Linked DNA regions of Homo sapiens: regions 2 and 3 are each linked to region 1. Evidence: promoter capture Hi-C in human tissues and cell types (Jung and others, 2019). All regions are on one chromosome and are shown on one strand. The core of a region is centred on a gene start or on the middle of the fragment in contact, and the rest is flanking DNA. Distances in the headings are between cores, read along the strand shown. Region 1 holds the start of XPO6 (exportin 6). Region 2 overlaps KATNIP (katanin interacting protein). Region 3 overlaps GTF3C1 (general transcription factor IIIC subunit 1).

Region 1 (3,477 bases), core at 468-2,967:
ACTACCCACAGGCCCCTTGAATGTTTCGAAAATTCCACAGGCCTTAAGGTCTGTATCACAAAAGATGCAGCTATGTCCCTTTCTCTATTATACCACTAACTTGGCAGGGGTAAAATGGGTGAAACTGAGGAGAACAGCTCCACTCCTCGAGGTGCTCAACCACAGGCTAGGTGATCCAGTACTTACCAAGGGCTTACTATGTGCCAGGAGCTGGAGCAGATAAGGGTTCAAACAATTTGGTCTTTGAAGGAGCTGTGTATACCGCAATAGACAGATAAGGCTCAGAAATAATTACAAGAGCAAAAAGGCAAATGCTTAACAAAGAGATGTGGGTACACACATTTAGGGGAGTATTGAAAGTATCGGTCTAGAAAACGTGGAGATGTGGATACACAAAGAGATGTGAGTACACACATTTAGGGGAGTATTGAAAGTATCGGTCTAGAAAACGTGGAAGGTAGCTTCAGCAGAGATCAGAGCATGTAGAATAGCAGCCTCAGTGTCAAAAGATCACGACCATTCCTGACTTTGCCATCACCTGTGCAAGTGACCTCTGTAAATCGCTCTGTTTCCTCATATATAAACCTACAGCTAGATGAGATGTTTCTCCTACAATCACCCAGCTCTCTAAGTGTATTAGAGATGCCTAGGTTCAAAGTCAGATGCCTAGGTTCAAATCTTAACACTGTTAAAAAGTCGCTTGACCTTGAGCTGGGGAATTAATTGCTCCGTGCCTCAGTCTCCCCACTTCCGAACAGAGGGCTGGTGTGATCATTAAATACTACTGCACTGTCAATCACTTCGCGCAGGGCCTTGGCAAGTAGTAAGCCCTCAATAAACGATAGTTATTATCCGGAGGAGCTGCAGGAGGCAAACACCAGATGCAAGGGTTGTGCCTGCTGCGCTCCCAGGGCCCTCCCAGGCCTGAGCCATCATCCCTGGGGGGATGGGAGCGCAGGGCCGGGGCTGCACACTCTGCACGCATGTGTCACCGGCCAGGCTCCGCACGCGCCTCTCCCCGCCATGGGGAGAGCAGCGATGGCTCAGCAGCCCCGGGGCCCATTCCCACCCTTCCGGTAGGGCACCCCAGGAGGGAAGGGGGCTCCAATTCCACTTACCATGCTGGCCGGGGAGGGGGCGGCTCAGATGAGCTGGTTCTTGGGCTTCGGACACGTCCCGCTCGCACAGTTCAGGTCATGGTCCCGGCAGACTCGGGAAGTCCCCCACCCATGCAAAGACAACCCCTTCCCCACCGGGCCCCGAGGGGACCCTCTAAAAAGGGCAGGGCCGCCCGGGTCGCCTCATCGGGGGACCCCGAGACAATTCATCCAGACCCACCCGCCCCTCCCCAAGGAAACTGAAAAAGCAGGAAATGAGGCTCGGATGCCGGCGAGGAGGGCAGCTGCTCGGGACCCCCGCCCGGGCCCGACCCCCGCGGGGGAGGCTGCGGGCCCAGGCAGGGGCTCCCCGGCCTCCGCGGGCAGAGGTGGCGGCGGCCCCGGCCCCGAGGCTGAACGGGCGGAGGCTGACAGGCCTCGACCGCGCGGCCCAGGCGGCCGGCTCAGGGGAGAGGCCCGGGGGCCCGCGCTGTCCTCGCAGCCTCAACCCACACGGCCACTGCCGCCGCCCCCTAGAGCATCCTTGCGCGCGCCCGCCCTGGAGCCGCCCGCTAGTACCGCGCGGCCGCCCCCGACCAACAGCCCCAACGCGCCGGAAGTGGCGAGCGCCGGGCGGCCCCACAGCGCGGCCGCCGGGCTGCGGCGCTGGAACCGGACCAATCCGGAATCGAGCGGGGCGAGCGGGGGGAGCGGGCGGAGGGCGGAGGGCGGGGCTGCACCTGACGGCTCCCACTGGCCCCGCCTTCTTACCACGCCCTCTCTTGCCCCGCCCCCTGCGCCCACCGCCCGTGCGTCCACGCGGGCCGGCAGCCATCTTGGTAAAGGGAGCCCGGGCTGCCATTTTAGTAAAGGCGTGGTTTCCCTTTCGCTTTTTTCGCCCATTCATTCCGCTAAAATTTTAGTGAGTGCCTTTTACGGGCGGAGCATCGAGCTGGCAGCGTGACGACACGCGGCCCTATGGAGCTTACATTCATGCAGTCCACACACTCTTGCCCGACTATATTCCAGGCCCTGCTGTGGATGCTAGGACAGGGGAGATAAACGTAACTTCGATAGCCAAGGTGCTGAGAGAGGCAGAGAATGTGTTGGATTCCTGTTCCCATCCTCCAATCCACTTTACTCGTGAAAGTGCTCATCTTTATTTTGTTTTATTTTTGGGGACAGGTTCTTGCTCTGTTGCCCAGGCTGGAGTGCGGTAACACAATCATGGCTCACTGCAGCCTCAACCTCCTGGTGCGCCACCATGCCCAGCTAAATTTTTTTATTTTTTGCAGAGGTGAGGCCTCCTTTTGATGCTTGGGCTGGTCTGGAACTCCTGGGCTCAAGCAGCTTTCCTGCCTCAGCCTTCCAAAGTGCTGGGATTACAGGTATGAGTCATCCAGCCAGGCTGAAAGTGCTAATTTTAAGAAACAGTCAGGAAACTATCCCAAACAGCTGAGGTTGAGCCCGCGGGTGTGCCTACTACATAGATTGGAGCAAATCTATGTAACCCAATGGCCCTTGTCAACCTTAAATAACGAGATTGAGAAAATAGTATTTAAGTATAGGGTTTATTCAAGCCCGAAGCTTGAAGATGGCCCACCAGAAGTATAGTCCAATTAGTGGCAGTTACAAATGGGGTTTCCTTGTTTGTTTGTTTGTTTTTAAGACAGGGTCTTGCTCTGTCGCCCAGACTAGAGTGTAGTTTGTTGTTGTTGTTGTTTGAGACGGAGTCTCGCTTTGTCGCCCAGGCTGGAGTGCAATGGTGCAATCTCAGCTCACTGCAACTTCCGCCTCCCGGGTTCAAACGATTATCCTGCCTCAGCCTCTCGAGTAGCTGGGACTACAGGCACCCACCATGATGCCCGGCTATTTTTTTTATTTTTAGTAGAAACGGAGTTTCACCATAGTGGCCAGGCTGGTCTTGAACTCCCGACCTCAGGTGATCCGCCAGCCTCGGCCTCCCAAAGTGCTGGGATTACAGGCGTGAGCCCTCCCGCCTGGCTTCAAGTGGGTTTCTAAGGAAAAAAGAGGCATAACATAAGGTTGAATAGGAATGATGAGAAAGGGGGAAAAAATAACATAAGCTATTGCCTATACATTGTTCTTTGTATCACAAATTTCAGGAACCTGAAGGAAATGGGGGAGGCAGCTAGTCTGGAACAAAATATCTTTAAACAATTGTCCCCGAGCATGTGGAGGTGGGAGTGTGCCCGAACTCCCATACACAAGTCTCAGTGGACCTGACAAATTTTGCATACTTCACATAACTCAGACTTCCCTGAGCTATTTTTCTTTCCTGTCAAACCTCAGTGTGATCTGAATCAATTCACCCAGAAGGACTGTTAAAACAAAGATTACTCGCTCCACTCATAGACTT
Region 2 (3,344 bases), core at 320-2,819, 540 kb before region 1:
GGTACATAGATAAGTCAGCTTAGTGCCTGATAATGTAACAGAAGCTTAGCAAGTAGTAGCTATTGTTTTTGATGTTACAGTTACTGATACTATTATTGCAAAAACTTCATGTTTGATGGTCGCCTGATGTCACTTTTCCTAGTTCAGCAGAAAGAGGAAGCTCAGGCATAGAAGGCATTAATTCACTGACCATCAAACCCCTGCTGCATTTCAGTCAGTGGTTCTTCTAGAAACTACCTTTAAGTCTTTGTATCAGCGTCCGTCCCTCCACCTTCTCCCTGGATCCCCAGTGAGGAGACCCATTTGTGTGCAGTCCCTGTCATCCGATCTCCACCTGCGGTGTTGGCAGCCTGGCCTCCATGCAGAGGGCTTTCTGTTGAAAGGGCTTGAACTTAACATTTTAAACACTGAACACTGAAATCAAATATAACAAGATTTTGAAGCAAAGCTATAAAGTATGTTTTTTCAGAGAAATTTCTGGATGATGGCTTCACAGCACCTGGTAGATCCCACAGCATGGTATCTCTTTGAAGTACAGGCAGATTGGCTTTCAAAGCGACCAGCCCAAGGTCCTCATCTTTCCAGATGGAAAGGTTTTGAACGGCTTCCTCCAGGGAATGTTGCTCCTTAGTTTGTCTCCCCTCTGCCCCTAGGACAGATGGTTTAGATCACGTGAGCATTATAAGGGTCTAGGTTCATCCAGTGTGAGCAAATGCATTTGTTTCCTTTGCGAAGAAGCTGCCAGCCACACCGAATCTAGGCTGCTCTTTTATATATATTTTCTTTGGGGAGAGGGAATTTTTTTTTTGTTTCATTTTTTAAGTTTTTAAAAATAGAGTTGGGGGTCTCACTTTGTTGCCCAGGCTGGTCTCGAATTCCTGGGCTCAAGCAATCTTCCCACCTCCGCTTCCCAAAGTGCCGAGATTACAGGCATGAGCCACTGCGCCTGGCCTATATATATTTTGCAAATACAATCATGGCATTTAAATTTCCATTAATTTAAAAGAAGAAAAAGAAACCAAATTGAAACAGGAGGAATTATTGAAATTCAAATTTCTTTATCACAGGAAATATTATTTCTTAAAATAGCCATCGGTTTAATACATTAGGAAATAAGAGGTTAGAGTTGCCATTTTTAAAAAACTCTAGTTTCCATTTGAGATGCATTTGGGGTTGACTTTCTGGTGTGGAAAATTAGGCCACCCACATTGCCTGCCCTCTCCTGATTTTTGTTAGCTAAGCTAAGGGCTTAGGTTTATAGCATTGCATTCTGGTCCATCTCCCTAATGTGCATAAATGCCTAGTATTTATTCAAACTTTAAGTGGCTACAGCGCTTACCATTAGACCTTTGATCACAGCTTGTCCATGCCTCTATCTTTATTTTGATTTCCTCTTTCATTGGTCTGGATTTTGTCACCTGGGTGATATTTTCTGAGAAGAGCTCATGAATGCCGTCTGTATTCCCTGGGTTTCTGGCTGTTTGAGATGGATGGTGTGTTACTTTCCAGTCTGGACCTCTTGGCTGGATACTTTATTCTCGAGTTAGACAGATGCTCCTCCGTTGTCTTCCAGCATCGAGTGCTGCTGTTTGTCATTGGCTTTTGGGAACCACATGTGTTCCAGGGATAGAGATGATTTTTCCAGGCAGCTGGCTGTCCAGGGTCCTCCACTCCACCATTCCCCGCCACTCCTCTAGGGAATTTATTTATTTGCAAGAAGGAGGGACAAAATTTAAACATAAATGTAAACGTATCATTTTTTTAAATTACAAAATTGGATGCCTGCTAATACTAAATAATTTTTTTAAAAACAAAGAAGAAAAGGAAAGTCCTGGAAAGGCTGTCAGAGAGATCATTGTTAATAGTTGGGTGCTGGCCGGGCGTAGTGGCTCACACCTGTAATCCAAGCACTTTGGGAAGCCACGGCAGGTGGATCACCTGAGGTCAAGAGTTCAAGACCAGCCTAGCCAATGTGGGGAAACTCCATCTCTACTAAAAATACAAAAAATTACTCAGGCATGGTGGTGTGTGCTTGTAAGCCCAGCTACTCGGGAGGCTGAGGCAGGAGAATCGCTTGAACCCAGGAGGCAGAGGTTGCAGTGAGCTGAGATCGCGCCACTGCACTCCAGCCTGGGCGACAGAGCAAGACTCCATCTCAAAAATAAAAATAAAAATAAAAAGTCAGGTGCCTATTTTTCCAGACTTTTTCTATGCATATATGCATACCTACATGTATAGAAATTAACAATGATTTTAAAAATTGAGTTCGTGTTATATGTACATTTTTCAACACGCTTCTTTTTACTTAAATGTATATCTTGATATCTGCCCAAAGAAGTACAAAAGTAGAGCTACCTCATTCTTTGTAAGAGCTGCCTGGGGCTCGGTGAACACCCGCTCTATTAGATATTTAATCCGTCTCTCATTGATAACCATGTGGACCATTCTCTATTATAAAGGATGCCTCAACGATCTTTGTGTACTTAGGACTAAAGGATACATTCCTGGAAGGGCTAGGTCAGAGGGTATGCATATGATTCATTTCTAGTCAGTCATGTCTGTCATCTCTGCCTCCAAAATAGATCTCGAGGCCTCCTCCCTGTCCCCACCTCTGCTGCCACCTTCCTCTTTCACCTGCAACTGCAGCAAAGCTGGTAGCCCTGTTTCCATCCTTGTCCCACCTCCTAAAATCCACTTGGTATCCAAGAGCCATAGAGATCTTTTAAAAGCAGAAATCAGGCCAGGCGCAGTGGCTCGCGCCTGTAATCCCAGCACTTTGGGTGGCTGAGGCGGGTGGATCACCTGAAGTCGGGAGTTCAAGACCAGCCTGGCCAACATGGTAAAACCCCGTCTCTACTAAAAATACAAAAATCAGCCGGGTGTGGTGGCGGGCGCCTGTGATCCCAGCTACTTGGGAAGCTGAGGCAGGAGAATCGCTTGAACCCGGAAGGCGGAGGTTGCAGTGAGCCGAGATCGTGTCACTGCATTCCAGCCTGGGCAACAAGAGCAAAAATCCGTCTCAAAAAAATAAATTAATAAAAAATAAAAGCAGAAATCAGATAACATTGTATCTCTGCCTAGCACCCTTCAGCAGCTTCTCATAGGGCATAGAACAAAATCCACACTCTTCCCTGAGGCCCACAAAGCCCTGTCCCCCGTGACTGCTGCCTCCCTCTAGGGAACACATGCCTTCCAGCCGTTCCTGCCTCCTGGCCTTTGTCTCTGCTGTTCCTACCCCCAAGACAGCCTTGTGCCCCAGACACTACCAGGTAGCTCTTCATCACTCAGCCTTCCCTGACCACCATTCATCAGGGCTTGCTCAGCCAGTCGCCCTGTCACATCAT
Region 3 (3,309 bases), core at 312-2,811, 670 kb before region 1:
CCGAGATGAGAGTAGACAGGGAAGAAATGTGGAAAAGTCTGCAAGTCAAGAAAGAAGGTGGAAGTTAGCAGAGTTCACATTGCCCTGTAAAGTAGGAAGGAAGGCAGGAATGGAGTTAGGTGCTTGAAAAAAAATGATCATTTGGATTAGACACTCTGGGGAATTGGGATACTGACTGAGGATTCACAAGAGAATGGCTTGGCAGCACAGGGCCCAGGTAGGAAGAGAGAAAGGGCACCATTCAAGTGCTCAAGGACTGTGAGCACAAAGGAAAGAGAAAGGCAGGACCCGTGACCCCAGTGAAGAAGGCGAATGAAGGCCAAGAACTGGCGTAGTGCAGGGCTAGTGAACTCTGACAGACTCCAAGGTTGTGGGCCAGATCCAAGTGCTCTGACTACACATTCAAAGCACTCAGATTCCCAGGAATTTCTTTTTTCCTTTTTTTTTTTTTTTGTAGACAGGGTCTGACTCTGTTGCCTAGGCTGAAGTGCAGTGGCATGACCTCGGCTCACTGCAGCCTGCCTCTGCTTTCTGGGTTCAAGTGATTCTCATGCCTCAGCCACTACAGTAGCTGGGATTATGGGCATGTGCCACCACACCCGGCTAATTTTTGTATTTTTAGTAGAAACAGCGTTTTGCCATGTTGGCCAGGCTGGTCTTGAACTCCTGGCCTCAAGTGATCCACCTGCCTCGGCCTCTTAAAGTGCTGGGATTACAGGCGTGAGCCACCGTACCCGGCCAGATTCCCAGGAATTTCTGATGGTGCAAAATAGTTACCTGTCAAAGGCTTCCACCATTGTACAGCGAGGCTGCAAGGACTTGGTTCTGATGTCATTGGTAATGTTTTTCCTCTCCTTAAAGTAGCGGCATGAGCCCTGGATGCCATCCTTATTCTCTAAGATCATATGAATGGGGTAGACATCCTCCAAAGCCACCGGGTCCCTCCTAGACTCCAAAATTCCAGTTTCCAAATCAATTTCTTCATACCTAAGGAGAAAAACACAAATATCAAAGCCCAACTCAGCTTCAGATATAATGTGTGCTTGGCTGTGTTCTTTTGACAACCTCCAGCAGAGATCAGAGAGAAGTGAGATCAGTCAGTTTTCCTGCCTTATAAATGCAGATAATCTTGACAAGCAGGTTCCTGCCTTTCTATCCCACAGAACGCAGACCTTTCCAGGACTCCCCAGACTATTCCAGAAGCTGGGTGCTGGGACCTAAACCTCCTTATTGGCCAAGTCATGGGCTTTTGTTTCCCTCCAAATCTGGTACTCAGTCTCCAAACCACCAAGTTGGACGAAATGATTCAAGGCTTTCCTCCGCTTTTTTGAGATGGAGTTTTGCTCTTGTTGCCCAGGCTAGAGTCCAATGGCATGATCTTGGCTCACTGCAACCTCCACTTCCCAGGTTCAAGCAATTCTCCTGCCTGAGCCTCCCAAGGAGCTGGGATTATAGGGGTGTGCCACCACGCCCGGCTAATTTTGTATTTTTAGTAGAGATGACGGTTCACCATGTTGGTCAGGGTGGTCTCGAACTCCTGACCTCGGTGATCCACCCGCCTCAGCTTCCCAAAGTGCTGAGATTACAGGTGGGAGCCACCACAAGTGGCCAAAGCTTTCCTCCCTTTAAGATCTCATCTTTCCATCTCTCCTTAGTTATCTCTCTAATATCCTAACCCATTTTCATGGTTTGCATTACCGCCTGCATGTTAACAAGTCTCACCTTTGAATCCTCAGTCCTTTTTCTCCAAATACAGATCCAATGTCTTCACTTGTCTATTAAATGCCTCCCATTCCAAATATGATTACCTCTCCCCAGCTCCAATTAAGTCCCTTCTTTCCCCTCTTACTACCGCTTTCTTCCATGTGCCTCTTACAACACCATGGAGACATTTTTCATTTGTGCTTCTTTCATGCAGTTAGCCAAGCTTGTCAAGTTTTTTTTTTTTTGAAAAAAAAAAAAAATACATACATATATATATATATAATTTTTTTTCCCCTCACTATGTTGCCCAGATTGGTCTTGAACTACCGGGCTCAAGTAATCTGCCCACTTCAGCCTTGCAAAGTGCTAGGATTACAGGTGTGAGCCACCTTGCCTGGCTGCTTGTCGAGTTTTATTTTGAAATCTCACTCATATCCTACACTAGTCTAATTGCGGCTAAATCCTATGTACATGTTTCAGCCCTTTCCTTCCTTGCCCCCTCTGTGTTATCTGCACCATTTAACCCTCCATTCCTTTTTTTTAAGACTTGAGTTTTGATCTTGTCACCCAGGCTGGAGTGCAGTGGCGCAATCTCGGCTCACTGCAACCTCTACCTTCTGGGTTCAAGCGATTCTCCTGCCTCAGCCTCCCTAGTAGCTGGGATCACAGGCACCTGCCACCACACCCAGCTAATTTTTGTATTTTTAGTAGAGAGAGGGTTTCACGATGTTGGCCAAATGATCCACCTGCCTCGGCCTCCCAAAGTGCTGGGATTACAGGCATGATTCACCACACCCAGCCCAACCCTCCGTTCTTAAATGATCCTGTCTCCTCCCAAACTTCCAGAACACCACTCTGACCTGACTGTCCTCTACCTCTCCAGCCACACCGCCTCAGTCTTCTTTTGAAAGTCCCTCACCCTCCATCCAGCCTTGAAATGTAGGTGCACTGCAGAGCTATATCTCAAGACCTCCAACCACACTACACTCTCTCTTAGGGCTGATCTTAGCCAGCTGCTTTAATTACCAGCTGCTAGGAATGACTCACAGATGTCTAGCTCAGTCCCTCCCTCTGGCCTGCTTTCACTCCCACGAAGCCAGATGTTTACTAATTAAGACTCTTCACTTGGACAACTCAAAAGAACCTGAAGCTAAATGTGTCACATGTCTCTTCAGCAAAGTCCCCACCTCCCCCAGACTCAACCCCCACGCTGTTCTTCCGTGTTCCCAGCCTCAGAGATGAGAATCAGGGTTCGCTCAGGTGCCCAAACAGCAGCCTACTATGTCTTGACTGCCTGTGCTCTTCATCCCCACGCCCACCATGGTAAGCCAGACCATGACTAGATTACTAAAAATCTCTCAACTTCACTCTTTGCCCCTAGTCTGACCCTCTCTTCAGTGACTTCTCACTGTCCTTTTGATAAAGGATAAGCTTTTTTTTTGAGATGGATTCTCCCTCTGTCACCCAGGCTGGAGTGCAGTGGCACAATCTCGGCTCACTGCAGCCTCCACCTAGCTGGGATTTCAGGCGTCTACCACCACGCCCAGCTAATTTTTGTATTTTTAGTAGACATGGGGTTTCACCATGTTGGCTGGACTGGTCTTG

What was found. Contacts are between HindIII fragments. The study calls those that stand out against the background at their distance.
Region 2: a fragment that was not itself captured here is called in contact with the fragment with the promoter of XPO6 in region 1 in 1 of the 25 tissues and cell types used here (dorsolateral prefrontal cortex).
Region 3: a contact is called between a fragment that was not itself captured here and the fragment with the promoter of XPO6 in region 1, in 1 of the 25 tissues and cell types used here (dorsolateral prefrontal cortex).

The regions. Positions count from the first base shown.
Region 1 is chr16:28,210,248-28,213,724 of GRCh38, forward strand. XPO6 (exportin 6) reads right to left here and starts at 1,718. Exons shown (of 24, transcript NM_015171.4): 1 at 1,119-1,718. The coding sequence starts at 1,121. RefSeq lists an enhancer at 838-1,836 and a silencer at 1,466-1,955. The HindIII fragment of the contact is 10,699 bases long and covers 1-3,477 here.
Region 2 is chr16:27,669,036-27,672,379 of GRCh38, forward strand. The region is part of intron 6 of KATNIP (katanin interacting protein); the gene reads left to right. LOC107984874 (a long non-coding RNA gene) reads right to left here. Exons shown (of 3, transcript XR_001752113.3): 2 at 1,340-1,693; 3 at 1-649. Among named protein-coding and RNA genes, the nearest start is that of KATNIP, 120 kb to the left of the region's middle. The HindIII fragment of the contact is 4,430 bases long and covers 1-3,344 here.
Region 3 is chr16:27,544,537-27,547,845 of GRCh38, forward strand. It overlaps GTF3C1 (general transcription factor IIIC subunit 1), which reads right to left. Exons shown (of 37, transcript NM_001520.4): 2 at 778-987. Among named protein-coding and RNA genes, the nearest start is that of GTF3C1, 3.7 kb to the right of the region's middle. The HindIII fragment of the contact is 4,315 bases long and covers 1-3,309 here.